Regions from separate parts of the Homo sapiens genome. Here regions 2, 3 and 4 are each linked to region 1. Evidence: promoter capture Hi-C in 16 types of primary human blood cells and fetal thymus (Javierre and others, 2016). All regions are on one chromosome and are shown on one strand. The core of a region is centred on a gene start or on the middle of the fragment in contact, and the rest is flanking DNA. Distances in the headings are between cores, read along the strand shown. Region 1 holds the start of CZIB-DT (CZIB divergent transcript). Region 2 holds the start of NRDC (nardilysin convertase). Region 3 overlaps TXNDC12 (thioredoxin domain containing 12). Region 4 overlaps BTF3L4 (basic transcription factor 3 like 4).

The links. Contacts are between HindIII fragments. The CHiCAGO score rates a contact against its expected background, and 5 or more counts as called.
Region 2: the fragment with the promoter of NRDC here is called in contact with the fragment with the promoter of CZIB-DT in region 1 in 1 of 17 cell types (fetal thymus); the score reaches 6.0 in fetal thymus.
Region 3: a contact is called between a fragment that was not itself captured here and the fragment with the promoter of CZIB-DT in region 1, in 1 of 17 cell types (fetal thymus). The highest score is 5.9, in fetal thymus.
Region 4: a contact is called between a fragment that was not itself captured here and the fragment with the promoter of CZIB-DT in region 1, in 3 of 17 cell types (naive CD4 T cells, fetal thymus and total B cells). The highest score is 5.6, in naive CD4 T cells.

Annotation. Positions count from the first base shown.
Region 1 is chr1:53,218,436-53,221,994 of GRCh38, reverse strand. CZIB-DT (CZIB divergent transcript) reads right to left here and starts at 1,635. Exons shown (of 1, transcript NR_185918.1): 1 at 1-1,635. It overlaps CZIB (CXXC motif containing zinc binding protein), which reads left to right and starts at 1,361. Exons shown (of 8, transcript NM_017887.3): 1 at 1,361-1,425; 2 at 1,651-1,734; 3 at 3,072-3,128; 4 at 3,500-3,559. The coding sequence starts at 1,420. RefSeq lists silencers at 1,030-1,089, 1,220-1,589 and an enhancer at 1,459-1,960. The HindIII fragment of the contact is 4,059 bases long and covers 1-1,927 here.
Region 2 is chr1:51,877,158-51,880,716 of GRCh38, reverse strand. NRDC (nardilysin convertase) reads left to right here and starts at 1,990. Exons shown (of 31, transcript NM_001101662.2): 1 at 1,990-2,442. The coding sequence starts at 2,102. RefSeq lists enhancers at 699-1,252, 1,643-1,822, 1,706-2,000 and a silencer at 1,903-1,952. The HindIII fragment of the contact is 5,345 bases long and covers 1-2,666 here.
Region 3 is chr1:52,029,143-52,032,701 of GRCh38, reverse strand. All of the region lies in intron 2 of TXNDC12 (thioredoxin domain containing 12), which reads left to right. It overlaps KTI12 (KTI12 chromatin associated homolog), which reads left to right. Exons shown (of 1, transcript NM_138417.3): 1 at 1-599. The coding sequence ends at 5. Among named protein-coding and RNA genes, the nearest start is that of KTI12, 2.9 kb to the left of the region's middle. The HindIII fragment of the contact is 2,042 bases long and covers 806-2,847 here.
Region 4 is chr1:52,057,639-52,061,197 of GRCh38, reverse strand. It overlaps BTF3L4 (basic transcription factor 3 like 4), which reads right to left. Exons shown (of 6, transcript NM_152265.5): 2 at 1,297-1,363. The coding sequence starts at 1,350. Among named protein-coding and RNA genes, the nearest start is that of BTF3L4, 3.1 kb to the right of the region's middle. The HindIII fragment of the contact is 1,122 bases long and covers 1,028-2,149 here.

The DNA.
Region 1 (3,559 bases), core at 386-2,885:
CCTGAGTTGCTTTCCACTGTGACAGGGCAAAACTCAGTTCCAATGCAAAGTCCCATAAGCACACAGATTCTCTCTCTATGCCAGGCAGCCAGGTGCTGCCAGAGGATGAGGGAGGGGTGGTGGTAGCAATTCAAGACTGTCTTTCCTACCCTCTTCATTGCCTTGTTCCTTTTTTTTTCTTCTTTTATGAGATAGAGTCTCACTCTGTCACCCAGGCTAGAGTGCAATGGCATGATCTCAGCTCACTACAACCTCCACCTCCCGGGTTCAAACAATTCTCCTGCCTTAGCCTCCGGAGTAGCTGGGACTACAGGTGTGCACTGCCATACTCGGCTGATTTTTGTATTTTTAGTAGAGACAGGGTTTCACTATGTTGGCCAGCTAGGTCTCAAACTCCTGACCTCAGGTGGTCTGCCCGCCTCAGCCTCCCAAAGCACTGGGATTACAGGTGTGAGCCACCGCACCCAGCCATTGCCTTATATCTTGATGTGACGTTACAACCAGCTACTGTGATTGCTACCTGAGTTTTGGTTCTCATGAAGGTGCTTTCTTGTGTGGATAGTTGTTCAGTTTGGTGTTCCTGCCAGGGAAGAGGAGGAGGAGGATCACTGGAGGGTTCTATTTGGCTATCTTGCCCCACCTCCTAGAAGAGTCTTGAATGTGCTGTTCCTTTTACCGTTAATCTCCACAGCTCCTGCATGGTCTCAGATGTAGCCTGGACAGGAGGCCAGGTAAAATAAAGTTCAATAAACGTTATGAGAGAAGGATAAGCCAGGTGGGCTCCCAAAAAAGAGCCAGCTGAAGGGGAATGTCCAGTCGCAAGGACCACAGTGAGAAGGATGTGGACACAGGGCAAACTCTGGAGAAGGGCCTAGAAACCAGGTCTCTTGGGTGAAACAGGAAAGGGCAGTTTGAAGAAAGGCATCATCCCCAAATCTGATAAACCAATACATTCTACTTTTTAAAGCGTATTGGTTTATCTTTATTTGGCAGTCTTGGAACTCTTCCTTTTGTAGCTTTTCCCCTGGGCAGAGGGAGCTGACGTGATCTGAGAAGTTCCAGGGCAGGCAGAGTAGTGAAGAGCCTGGAAAGAACTGAGGGTCAGGAACTGTCCTGTTCGCTTAAAGCAGGCACAAAATTGGCGTTCAGTAACTGTCTGTGGCACCACCGAATCCTGGAGTCAGGCTTCCGCTGGCCTGAGCACAGGTTGCTCGCGGACCTGGCTGACCTCCACTGGCCCCAGATCCCCAGATGCGAAAAGCCCAGTGGGCCAGGCGAGCAGCGGCGCGCAGAAGTCCCTGCCCCGCGGCCCGGCCCCGGCCCCGCCCTACTGAGGGTGCGCAGACGGCACCCGCCTTTTACGACGCGCCGGAAAGCAACGGCAAGGGCCGCAGCCAGCACCGGGCGGAGAGGGCTACCATGGGGGTGAGGGGAGGCCGCCCGCCGCGGGGACACGGAGGGGAGGTGGCGAGGGTCTGGGAGGCAACAGCTCGCGCCAGGAGGAGATGAAGCGAGTGGGTGCGCGCTGAAGGAGCAGGAGGCAGAAGGAGTGTCTCCCTGTGGCACCCACGGCTGGGAATGCGGGAGGGTCGGGCAGGCGTGGGGCTGCGCAGGCACGGCTGACGCAGTCGCTCTGGCCCTCCCCCTCAGAAAATCGCGCTGCAACTCAAAGCCACGCTGGAGAACATCACCAACCTCCGGCCCGTGGGCGAGGACTTCCGGTGGTACCTGAAGGTGCGGCCGGGGCGGGGCCCGGGGAGAGGAGGCCCGTCCTGATCTCAGTGCTGAACCGGAGCCTTCTCTCCGGCAGTATGAGAAAATATTTAACCAGGCACATTAAGTGTTCGGGGTTTTCCTAGTTAGAATTTTACGTTTGCTTTCTATTAAAGTGTATTGGTTTATCTCTAATTGGCAGTCTTGGAAAGCTTCATTTTGTAGTTCTTCCCTGTGTTAAATATTTCGTGGTCTGTAAATGGACACTAAACGAAATGCTACTTGAAGGGACGCTTGTGATTATTTAATAAGGTGAATAGTTCGCCTTTCGTTTATTGATTTGGTTTTCTTTATTGTGAAATAGTTTAATTTTGTGCGTAATCCACCCTTCCTTAGCCCTCCCACACTGGTAAAGCTGGTACCCTAGTGGCATGGTCTACAGAGGCCTCCCCTTCCCCAGCAGTTCGAGGCTCTTCACTCTTCCAGATCCCAGAGCTTCTGCTCTGTTTTACTCCTGGTCAAAAATCCCAGCATCCTTCTGTACCTCTCAAAAGCCCTGTTTTTCGGGAAGCTGCCTCCGGACTACTTTTGTTTCCCAGGATTTTGAAGCCTGAATACCAGGGCTTACTTGGGAGAATCTGTTCTTTGGCTTGAAGAAGCGGAATCGAGTGAAGGAGACAGAAAAATAGAGTAACAATAGAGTGATAAGTGCTTATACCAGTGACATACAGGGCCTGTGGGAACATAAAGCTAACCAAGCAGAGTGGGTCGGGGGCCTGCTGAGGCCATTTCTCTTTTTTTTTCTTAATTGACACAGAATTGTACATATTTATGGGGTATATAGTGATGTTCCGATAAATGTAATGTATTGTGATCAGATCAAGGTAGTTAGCATATTCACCTCAAACGTGTATCATTTCTTTGTGTTGGGAGCATTTAATATCCTAGCTATTTGAAACTATATATTATTGTCAGCTATAGTCATCCTACAGTGCTATAGAACACTAGAACTTATTCCTCCCATATAGCTGTAATTTTGTATCTTCTAACAAATCTCTCCATATTCCCCCCCCTCACCTCCGCTGAAACCATTTCTGCACCACAGGTGCCTTGAATCCCCGGCCACACTGAGCACTTCATAGAGGAGGGTGGGCACGCCGGCATAGGAAACAGCCTTACCTATCCTTTGCCCAGAGATAGTTCTAGTTTTGTCCTTGTTGGGGCAGGTGTTAGGGATGAAGTGAGATTGCCATCAAGAAGGTAGATCATGAGCCTGCCCACCTCCCACTGTTCTTACCCTTTCCTTGGTGTCTGTGCAGCAGAGCCAGCTGCTTTACTAACATTCTTTTTCCCCAAAGATGAAATGTGGCAACTGTGGTGAGATTTCGGACAAGTGGCAGTACATCCGGCTGATGGTAACTGTTCCCCGCCCAACCCCCAACATAAACACTCACAAACACACATACACTTCTGGGCAGGGATTTGGGGAAACTGGCCTTCATCTCTCCAGTTCTTTGCTCCCTGCTTTTTGTGGTTTGGGAGGGTAGGTGTCAGTGTGATCAGCACTGGATTCAATAGGCATCTTTGAGGTATGAGGCAGAGTTCAAAATCAAGGGGAAGCCCTTTTTTTATTTTCCTCAGGAAGCCTTCCCAGGAGTCTTGTCCTAGTAAGTTACCCTTTCTGGGTCTTGGTCTCTTTAAGTGGACAATAAATGGTGGGCTCGATCTCCTCAGGACTGTACATCTAATTCATATGTGACTGAAAGTTCTGTTTGCTTTTTGCCAGGACAGTGTGGCACTGAAGGGGGGCCGTGGCAGTGCTTCCATGGTCCAGAAGTGCAAGCTG
Region 2 (3,559 bases), core at 741-3,240, 1.3 Mb after region 1:
TGCTCGACCTTGCCTCTTCCTGTACATTTCTGACAGGATTAATGACTATGCCTCCATAATCTATAAACATGTGTACTCTTCCACCTAAACCTTCATGAGATTTTGCTCTAGTGTAACTCCTGAGTACATTTTTTCTTTTTTATTAGAGACAAGGTCTTGCTCTGTCACCAGGCTAGAGTGCAGAGGCACAATCATAGTTCACTGTAACCTCAAACTCAGGAGTCCCAGCAATCCTTTTAACTCTGCCTCTCCTGTAGCTAGGACTACAGGGATGTTCTACCACGCCTTGCTTTTTTATGTGTGTGTGGAGACAGAGTCTTGATATGTTACACAGGCTGGTTGTAAATGCCTGGCCTCAAGCAATCCTTCTGCCTCAGCCTCCTTAATCACTGGGATTACAGGCCCAGCCTTTCTGAGCACATTTGATTTAACTTCCAAGCACATGCAGAGCGGCCACCACCTGTATAGAAGCTGCGGGCTGAAACACTGCTTTGGAGCAGTCTAAAAAAAAAACTCTCTGACTCTCCCAGGTGGCAGTCCTCAATAAGACTTCTGAAGAAAGCTAACTTGAATTATTTAAAAGCCTGATTTACTTTAGTTTACATATTTTACAGTTCCTTCCCATTAGGATGCAAGCTCCCCCAAGGCAAGGCTTTAAATTTTTGTTGTCGTTGTTTAGACAGGGTCTCACTGTGTCAACCAGGCTGGAGTGCAGTGTTGCAATCACGGCTCACTGCAGCCTCGACCTCCTGGACTCAAGCGTTCCTCCTGCCTCAGCCTCCTGAGTAGCTGGGACCACATGCACGCATCACCAAGCCTGGCTAATTTTAAAAAAGAATTTTGTACAGACGGGGGTCTCACCATGTTGTCCAGGCTGGTACCAAATTCCCAGGCTCAAAGCAATCCTCCCGCTTCGGCCTCCCAAAGTACTAGGATTATAGGTGTGAGCTATCACTATCACGCCCAGCCTAAGGCAAGTTTTGTTTTGTTCATGGTTGTATTCCTTGCATTTGGAACTCAGAAGAGGCCTCGAAAACCTTGAAGATACAGTAACTATCAACACATCTCCCTGCTTCACGTCTTTCCCCGCTCATTCGTATGTATGAGCTATGATCTCTTACCCCATGGTGTCAGTATAGTGCATCTTACTAATTTCAGCTGCTTTTTAGCTTTCATTTATGTTTGTATTTCCGTCACATTTTACATTGCTAACCAAAGACCACTGCTAGCGGGAAAAACTGGGAAAGGAGACTTGAAGGCAGCAGACGCTGCAGCTGCTCGATAAAAATTGGCCGAATTTAACAGGAGGCTGGAGGAGCTAAAAAACGTTTTCACACAGAAGAGTTAGCACATCCAGACTGGTCTTTTTAGCACTTTCTTAGGGCTTGAGGATGAAACCCCACCACTGTCGGGCCGACTGTAGGGTAGAGAAGAGCCAATTAGTATTTGCGGCGCTCGGGAGCAGCGTCCATCCGGCGGGTGTAGGAAAATACTTCCGGCGTTCTGGTTTTTTATGTGCTGAGTCACAGCCGAAGGCTCGCCCCGGGTCTGAGGAGTAGGGTACCCAAACTATGACACGAATGGGAAAATTTAAAACTTTGGAATTAATTCTCTGCACTCGTTTCTCAGTTTTCTCATTAGGGGAATATTTTTCTTTGACACGCGGAGCACTACTCAGTGGTTTCCACAAAACACACTCGTACGTCATAAACGCGCCGGGGGCCCTTCTCCCGTCGTCCTCCGCGCCACTCTCTCCGCTTCTTCTCCCTCGCCCCGCCCACTTTGGGTTTCGAAATGTTCGCTGGCTGTTCCGAGAATCAGTCCGGGTCACGTTGGTGCCTCTCCTTTCCTGTTCTGATTGGTTGCTTACGTGAGCGTGACTACTTTCTTGCCTCATGATTGGCTGAAATCAGTAGCGTCATCGGCGGCCGGGAGGGCGGAGGGACGAGGGAAGTCGGCGAGAGGGAGACTGGGTTGGGGGAGGGGTTCAGGCCTGTTCCCCGCGGCTGCGGCAGCACCAGGGCCGGCCGCCACCGCCTCTAGAACGCGGAGGAGGTGGGTCCTGGGAAGCGGGATGTCCATCGCTCCAGCTTGGTGGTGAATGCTGAGGAGAGTCACTGTTGCTGCAGTCTGTGCCACCCGGAGGAAGTTGTGTGAGGCCGGGCGGGAGCTCGCGGCGCTCTGGGGAATCGAAACGCGGGGTCGGTGCGAAGACTCTGCTGCTGCCAGACCCTTTCCTATTCTGGCCATGCCTGGAAGGAACAAGGCGAAGTCTACCTGCAGCTGCCCTGACCTGCAGCCCAATGGACAGGATCTGGGCGAGAACAGCCGGGTTGCCCGTCTAGGAGCGGATGAATCTGAGGAAGAGGGACGGAGGGGGTCTCTCAGTAATGCTGGGGACCCTGAGATCGTCAAGTCTCCCAGCGACCCCAAGCAATACCGGTGAGGGAGGAGGCTTGCAATGGGGAGGCGAACAGTGTGCCGGCTTCTCTGTCGGTGCCGCCGTCACTTCTTGTCTCCATGTCTCCCAATGGAGCAACAGGGCACACTTTCCACCCCAAATGCTTCCTTGGGTGGAGGTGGCAAGCGTGATTAGAGGCTTCCCTGTGGTGTCAGCTGGGCAAGTGGGAGATCTTGGGTTGTAAGACGTCAGAATGGGAGAAGCTTTTCGAGTCATTTGAATACAGTCGCTAAAGCAAGAATGAAGGTTTCTTTGAGGAACGCAGCCTGAATGGTGAGGGAGTCTTGGTATTATGTTACCAGGAAAGGTTGACGGAGTTGGATACTTTAATTTGGAGGACAGGATATTTAAGGGGCATATTATCACTATCCAAAATATTTGAGGGACACTTAAGTGATAGGTGAAACTAGTGGACGAAAGTTACCAGAGGATGGTGTGGCTTCAGTAAAGTAACTTTGCATCATATTTGGCCTAAGTTGAAGTGACTTGTTTCCATGGGTAGTTCTCCATTACCAAAACGGTTGGGCGACCTCGTCCAGGAATATATTAGAGAGGGCTTAGGTCTCAGTTGGGTGAGTTGTAAGGTTTCTTCTAACCTTGAAATTCTCTACTTTTGGTTTGTACAGGAGTTCTCTAAACATTTCTAATAATTGGTGATTCAGTCCCCACCTGAGTATTTTCCTTCAGAGGTAGCTTATTTCATGGAGTATCATGACTATGATGTATCTTGCGTGTGTGTGTGTGCGTGTGTGTTTTAATAAGAGTCTGGGTCTTGCGATGTTGCCCAGGCTAATTTCAAACTCCTGGGCTTAGGGAATCCTCCTGTCTTGGCCTCCCAAAGTACTGGGATTACAGGCGTGAGCCACTGTGCCAGGCCTGGACTTTGATGTATTTTAAATAGAGTTCATATTGTCCAATAACTTCGTTGAACAGGTTGAGGAAATTGAGACCCAAAGAGTTTGCTTCTTGCTCTGAATCACACAGCTAAATAATAACAGAGCTGGTATGATGACCCCTACTATCTGACACCAAATTCAGTGTATCATTTGCTGATTTCCTTTTTTTTTTTGAAACGGAGTCTTGCTGTGTCACCAGGCT
Region 3 (3,559 bases), core at 577-3,076, 1.2 Mb after region 1:
ACTGACCAGAGGAGGTAGGGGGGAAGCCATGGCTTCTGATCTCCACTCCACTTTATTTCTCTGGGAAAAATAGGCTGCAGGTCTCCAGAGCATATCGATGCAGTACTGTACTAGAGCTGTTGTGACTGATTCACTCAAACTTTCCTGCATACCCCTGTGCCAGGCCTTGGGTTTACAGCATAAGTTCAGACTAAAGAGAATGGAGAACTATTGTGGTGCAACCTGGCAAATCCCTCAGAGGACAGAGCTAAGGTGGACAGGGATTACCTAGATTGGATCCTACTTGGGCTATCACAGAGCATTGACCATTGGCTTCCCTCATCTGAGGCGTGGGAGAGCAGACTGGATAGATGAGAATTGTTTTAAAACAATTGTGAACAGAAACTGAAGATGGTACAGTTCTACATCTGCACCTGCCCTTTTTTCATACCACAAAAGTATTTTTTGAGTACTGTACTGACTTTTTGCTAGTTTCTATTCTGGGACCGAGTTCACAGATAAATCCATTGGTTTGTATCCTTGAGAAACTTTGTTTTTGTGGAAGTAAGAAAGTTATCTACTAGATTATTTCCTCTAATAAAATCTTTTAAAATAGTCTACTGGAATCTCTTTCACTTAATGTTCCCTGTGTAACTTCATGTAACATTTTAGGTATACTTGTCATTGTTCTGCCTTTAAGTGAAGTAGTATTTTGATAGTTCTGAGAGAGTAGATGTTTTGAGCTACTCTACAGTAATTATATTATGACAATTTCCGTAACTGTTTTGCTTCATTCTGCATTTCAAGGCAAATATCATTGTAAGCTTGTCTTTCATTCTTCATTGATTTCATTGAACAAATGGTAGGTACCTACTTTAACAGTGGCTGTGATTTTCAAAGACCAATTAGATACAGTGTTTTTGCTCTTGAGATATGTGGTGAGAAGCCGGGTGTGGTGGCTCATACTTGTAATCCCAGCACTTTGGGAGTCCAAAATCGAGGTCAGGAGTTCGAGACCAGCCTGGCCAACGTGGCAAAACCTCGTCTCTATTAACAGTACAAAAATTAGTTGGGCGTGATGGTGTGCCTGTAATCCCAGCTACTCTGGAGGCTGAGGCACGAGAATCGCTTGAACCTGGGAGGTGGAGGTTGCAGTGAGCTGAGATCGCACCACTGCACTCCAGCCTGGGCAGCAGTGAAACTGGGTCTTGAAAAACAAACAAAAAGAGATATGTGGTGAGAAATACAAGTAAAAGATAGAATTAGGCTGGGTGCGGTGGCTCATGCCTGTAACCCCAGCACTTCAGGAGCCCAAGGCGGGTGGATCACAAGGTCAGGTGTTCAAGACCAGCCTGACCAACATGGTGAAACCCCATCTCTACTAAAAATACAAAAATTAGCCGGGCGTGGTGGCACGTGCCTGTAATCCCAGCTACTCAGGAGGCTGAGGCAGGAGAATCGCTTGAACCCGGGAGGCGGAGGTTGCAGTGAGCCGAGATCGCGCCACTGCACTCCAGCCTAGGTGACAGAAGGAGACTCCATCTCAAAAAAAAAAAAAAAAAGATAGGATGAAATGGGCTGGTGGTCAGAGGATGATGACAAAAGACAAAATGCTTTGGAAACCTGGTGAAGAGGACTAACTAGCTGTTGGGGGAGGTGGTTTTGGAAAGGTTTTAAGAGGAGTTAACATTTGAACCATCACTGTAGAATAAAGTCAGTAAAGGGCCAAATGGTAAATGTTTTAGGCTTTGTGGACCATCAAATGCTGTTGCTACTTATAGATGGTAAGTAAACAAATAAGCATGAATGTATTTTAATAAAACTACACTGAAATGTGAATTACAATTAATTTTAACATATCACAAAGGAGTCTTTAGATTTGCTTTGCAAACATTGAAAAATGTAAAAATATACAACAAAATATTTGCATATCATGGGCCCTACGGAAGCAGACGGTGGGCTGGATTTGGCCTGCAGACCCTAGTTTGCCAACCCCTGCTCTAGAAGGATAAACAGATGTTTGCCAGGGAGAAAAGAGAAAGCAAGACATTCGAAAACATGCATGCTCTGAAACTATGGAGCTGTTAAAAGAGAGGGTAGATGGGCTGCCTTGGTTGATGGTATATTCCTTGCTCATCAGGTAATCTATACTACCTTTTGTTTCTGATAAACAGGATTCATGTGTGAAATGGAAGTCTGGATGAGGCAAACTCAAAAGGCTTTTTCCAACCTTCATTAAGTTGGTTATTGATTGAATTGGGTCTAACCATGGATTCTGGATTACCATTCTAAATTGAAGTAGACTGTAACCGTCAGAAAGAACATTGGTTTTGGAGTCGGACTTCTGAGTTAGCTAGTAAGTGGCAGAACCTAGGTTTTTGTTTTGGGTTTTTATTTTTTTTTATTTATTTATTTTTGAGACAAGGTCTGGCTGTCTCCCAGGCTGGAGTGAAGTGCTGTGAGTAGCTGGGACTACAGGCATGCACCCCACGACCGGCTAAGTTTTGTATTTTTTTGTAGAGACAGGTTTTCACCATGTTGCCCTGGCTGGTCTTGGACTTGTGAGCTCAAGTGATCCTCCAGCCTCGGCCTCCCAAAGTGCTGAGATTACAGGTGTGAGCCACTGTGCCCGGCCTAGAACCTAGATTTTATGGGGCCAAATATTTACTCTATTGAGCATCTCAATTTTCTCATTTCTATTGTGAGACCATTAATAGTATCTACCCTAGGGTTATTTTGAGGATTTAAATGAGATAATGCATATACAGCACAATGTCATATAATAAACGTTCAGCACATTTTGGCTATTATGGTTACCTATATCCTACTACCCACCTAAACTTGCCCTGCTCATTTGGTTTACAAGCTTTTACAAGTATTGCAGGCAGAAGTCCATCCAGATGTGAGGTAGGCCTAAGGTGAGGTGACTGAATGATTCATTTGACACTTATTAAATGAGTTAATTTATGTATATTTACAGTAGTGCCTGGCACATGGCAAATGGTATATAAGTGTTTGCTATCAATAATATATGTGTCAGATGTAAAGGATATAGAGACAGCTAAGAGTTCCTTGTCTTAGGAATCTCCAAGTCCAGTGGAGGGAGATGGGTAAATAATAGGTACAGATCAATATGTTAAGTGCATGGTAGCTATTATACAGTGTATGTTGTTATGGTGACATGGGGTTGTGTGATGGAGAAAGCTAATGGCTACCTACTTACATGGGGTCTTCCTACTGTCATTTGAGCCTTGAGAGCTTAAGAGCTTCCTCTAGCCAGTCTGGTTCGGGTGGATTGCATTGCTCATTGTGAACAGTTTCCTCCCTGATTATGAAAATTATATTGTAGAAAAATCATGAAATACAGATGTAGTGTAAGGAAAACATCCACAGTCCCATCATCCACAGAAAACTGCTATTATTATGTTTTGGTACATTTTCTTTTAGGCTCTTTTCTCTGTACATATTTTATAATTAAAACCAGACTATAGATACATTTGTATCCTAGTTTTTTATATAAGCTACCAATGAAAAATTATTTTCAATGATTATATAACAATAATCATTTAGAAATACTGTA
Region 4 (3,559 bases), core at 339-2,838, 1.2 Mb after region 1:
GCCATTACCTTTTCGCCTAGTGATAAATTGTTTATCCTTTAAACAAGAGCTCAGTGATAACTTCCTTGTCTCCACTAGGCAAGAGTACCTTGTACTTCATTATAACACTCACTATTCTGCGTTATAATTGTGAGCATCTCTCTCCCAAGCAGAGCTGTGATCTTGTTTATCTTCTATGTGCTGGCACACAGTAGGTGCTCAATATACAACAGCTAAATCGAATGTACCAACCACAGTTTTAAAATACACAATGGCGATGTGGTACATCAAGCTCTTCTAGGTATATTCTATGGTTCTTGAATATCCCTAGTTTCTGCATTGGCACATCACATCACACTTGATGCTACAATGTGACTACTGTGGTTACATGAGTGTGTTATTCTAACTCCAGACTCATATAACTGTATCACTGTGGGAGAAGGAGAAAGTACTGGCTCTTCTTCCCTTCCCTTCCCTTGTGCTCATCCCCAGGAACTGTGGTTATCATCAGTGTAAATGACACAGTGGGACCCACTACAAAAAGTAGTGTCCTACCTACCACTTCAGGTCTGAGGTAAGTACTATTCTTTCTTTCACTTTTGCAAAGATTGTGTTGGGCAGAGATATGGGTAGAATATTCTCCTTGAGCCTGGTGCCACAGCTGAAGAGAATCAAAGACTTCAGTTGCTCACAACTAGTTCTTCCTTAGGCTTTAAAAAGTACAGGGAATAAGAAAGCTGATATTCATATTCACCAACATGGAAGAACAGGTAAGAATTTGTGAGGAAAACCTGGCAATGAACAAAATATATAATCAACTTAAGCATCTCCAGCTAAACCTCTGTACAAGTAGGTAACATCCAGTCAAGACAAAGTAACCCTAACATCTGGTATGCCCTGCAAGTGAGTCTAACCATAATAATAGCTATAATTTATTAAGCATCTACTCTGTGCTAGACACCACATTAGGTGTTTTATAAATATTACCCTAATCTTTAAACACCTTATGTAGGATTATTTCTATTTTGCAGATAAGAAAGTGGAAGCTTAACAAGGTTGGATAACTTGTTCACATCATATAACTAGCAGATGGTAAGAGTTAGGATTCAAACAAATGTGGCTATTTCCATTGCATCATCAGAGAGAAAAGTGTTCTAGTTACCTATTTTAGATCTAGACAAGTTATTTTCAAATTGGAATGTGGTTTGATCTTGATTATTGAAAAGATTTTAGATTTTCAATGACCACAAATCCGAAATAATAACACTATCTGGTAATCATACATTCTCCTATCAATTTTTCTTATGCCACACTCACCTTGCCCCCTATCCGGACCTGAGCCTGAAGTTTGGCTAACTTTTCTTGATTCATGCTGTTGGTAAATCTAGGGGGGGAAAAATAGATTTGTTAAAGTCACTCTTTTGCCGAAATTAACAAACTGTTTATGCAACAGTACCTTCTGGTTCACTGAGCTTGTAGTATGCATCAACACCATGACCATATTAATACTGTCTATATTCTTAATAAACATTAATAACTTGTTCTAGCTTCATAAACCAGATATTTTTAAAAATCAAAATTAAATTACCATGAGGGAATCAAATATACAAACAGAAAGTAGAATGGGATTCAAAGTCACCTATTCAAAGATCCCTCCTTAAAACATGATTCAATCCTTTGGCATTCAGTTAAGCCTAACCAATTATGAAATCTCTGTAGGCAAGCCAGTTTTTTTCCCCCAAAGATTTTTACAGCAGAGAGCTGTTACCAAATGTTATTAGCAAAATCTTCAAGTAGATTTTTTTCCTCCCAAATCACATTCTGTATTTCTTATAAACCATAAAGATGACAAAAGGAAAAAAAAGCTGAACAAAGAAGAAATTCAACAAAAGGCTGTCTAGCTGTCAAGATATCAAGTAGTCATGTCCTCTATTCAAGGTCAGATGGTATGTTAATAATGGGGAAAGAGAACCAGGTTTTCAGACATTTGGTGCTTCTGCAGCACTCTCCAGAGTTCATTCAATACCCTGCACTGATATAGTATGTTATACTTGTCAAGACATTCTTGCATACAGGGTAAAATGCTTCATTGCACAATTTAACAAAAACATATCTTTGCTACAGTAATAAATGTTGGGGGGGGGCAGAGAGGAGACTCCTAAAACAAGCTTTTTAAAGTTAATCTTGATTTTGAAGATTCTAAAATTATAGTCATGAATCTAGTCTGGTCAGTGATAATCCCACTAAGAAAAAAACATTCTTAAGTTTATAATGGGTCATCACATTCCACATTACATAAACAAAGAAAAGCCAAATTCAGGCCCGGCACGGTGGCTCACGCCTGTAATCCCAGCACTTTGGGAGGCCGAGGCGGATGGATCACCTGAGGTCGGGAGTTCGAGGCCAGCCTGACCAACATGGAGAAACCTGTCTTTACTAAAAATACAAAATTAGCCGGGCGTGGTGGCACATGCCTGTAATCCCAGCTACTCAGAAGGCTGAGGCAGGAGAATCGCCTGAACCCGGGAGGCGGAGGTTGCGGTGAGCCAAGATCATGCCATTGCACTCCAGCCTGAGCAACAAGAGCGAAACTCCGTCTCAAAAAAAAAAAAAAGCCAAATTAAAAGTCTTGTTTTACTTGTTCTGCAGATCAACAAATCATTACTGAGATGTGAGGGAGGGAATAAGGGACTAGGTTGTTATCAAATCTTCTTTGGCCAATTCTCTAAACCCTGTATAGTCATCATTCACATGAAAAAAATACTGTTTGCTTCATTTGAGAGATTAAAAAAAGCAGCATCAAAGACTATATAATTACTAACCATTTTGTACTTTGACACTATCCTTAGGCAATAACCTATATATCTATCTCTTCTTTAAGGCTAATGTCCAGATCCCAAATAATATTTAGAATTTATGATTCTTCACTCTGCTCAGCGCTGTATCACAATGCTGAAGCAGCTAAAAACACTTTTATAGGAGGAAGTGTGTTTAGAGTCCAAAACAAGAAGTCTTAAATGTGTGCCAATCTTAGCTCTGCCATAGACTTAAATTTGATGACTTAAATCCCAATTCCTATGCTCAAATATCCACAGAAAAGGACCAACATTCACTTTTCTCAAAGGAATGTGGCCATGAGAGTGTAGTGAACTAACAAAGAGCCAAAGGAATTTATTGCAAAAAAAAAGGGGCTAAGGAAAAACATTAGACCTAGATACTTGGTAAACCCTTTGGGATTCTTCTGCATTTTGAAGTAACAATTCCCAAGAGAACAGACAGAGGTTGGGATGCCAAGACAAAGTCTTGACTTGTTTGAAATAAAAGCAAGAACAAAATTAACTCTTCAAATCAAGGTATAGATGAAAGAACAGATTCCATTCCAGGTGGTCAGGACAACAGAATTGAGAAATTTTGTTCCTAAGGAGTATCTCAGAGAAAAATGATTTTAGGGAGACTGAGAGCTCAAGGCAGTAGGGGAGGAACAAGAGTAGTCTTTTGTTTCTTGGCAAGTTGTGGTGTGTGGAATTCAAGTAGGAAAGAGGACTGGACTCAGTCTATGCGATGTCAAGCTCAGAATCTG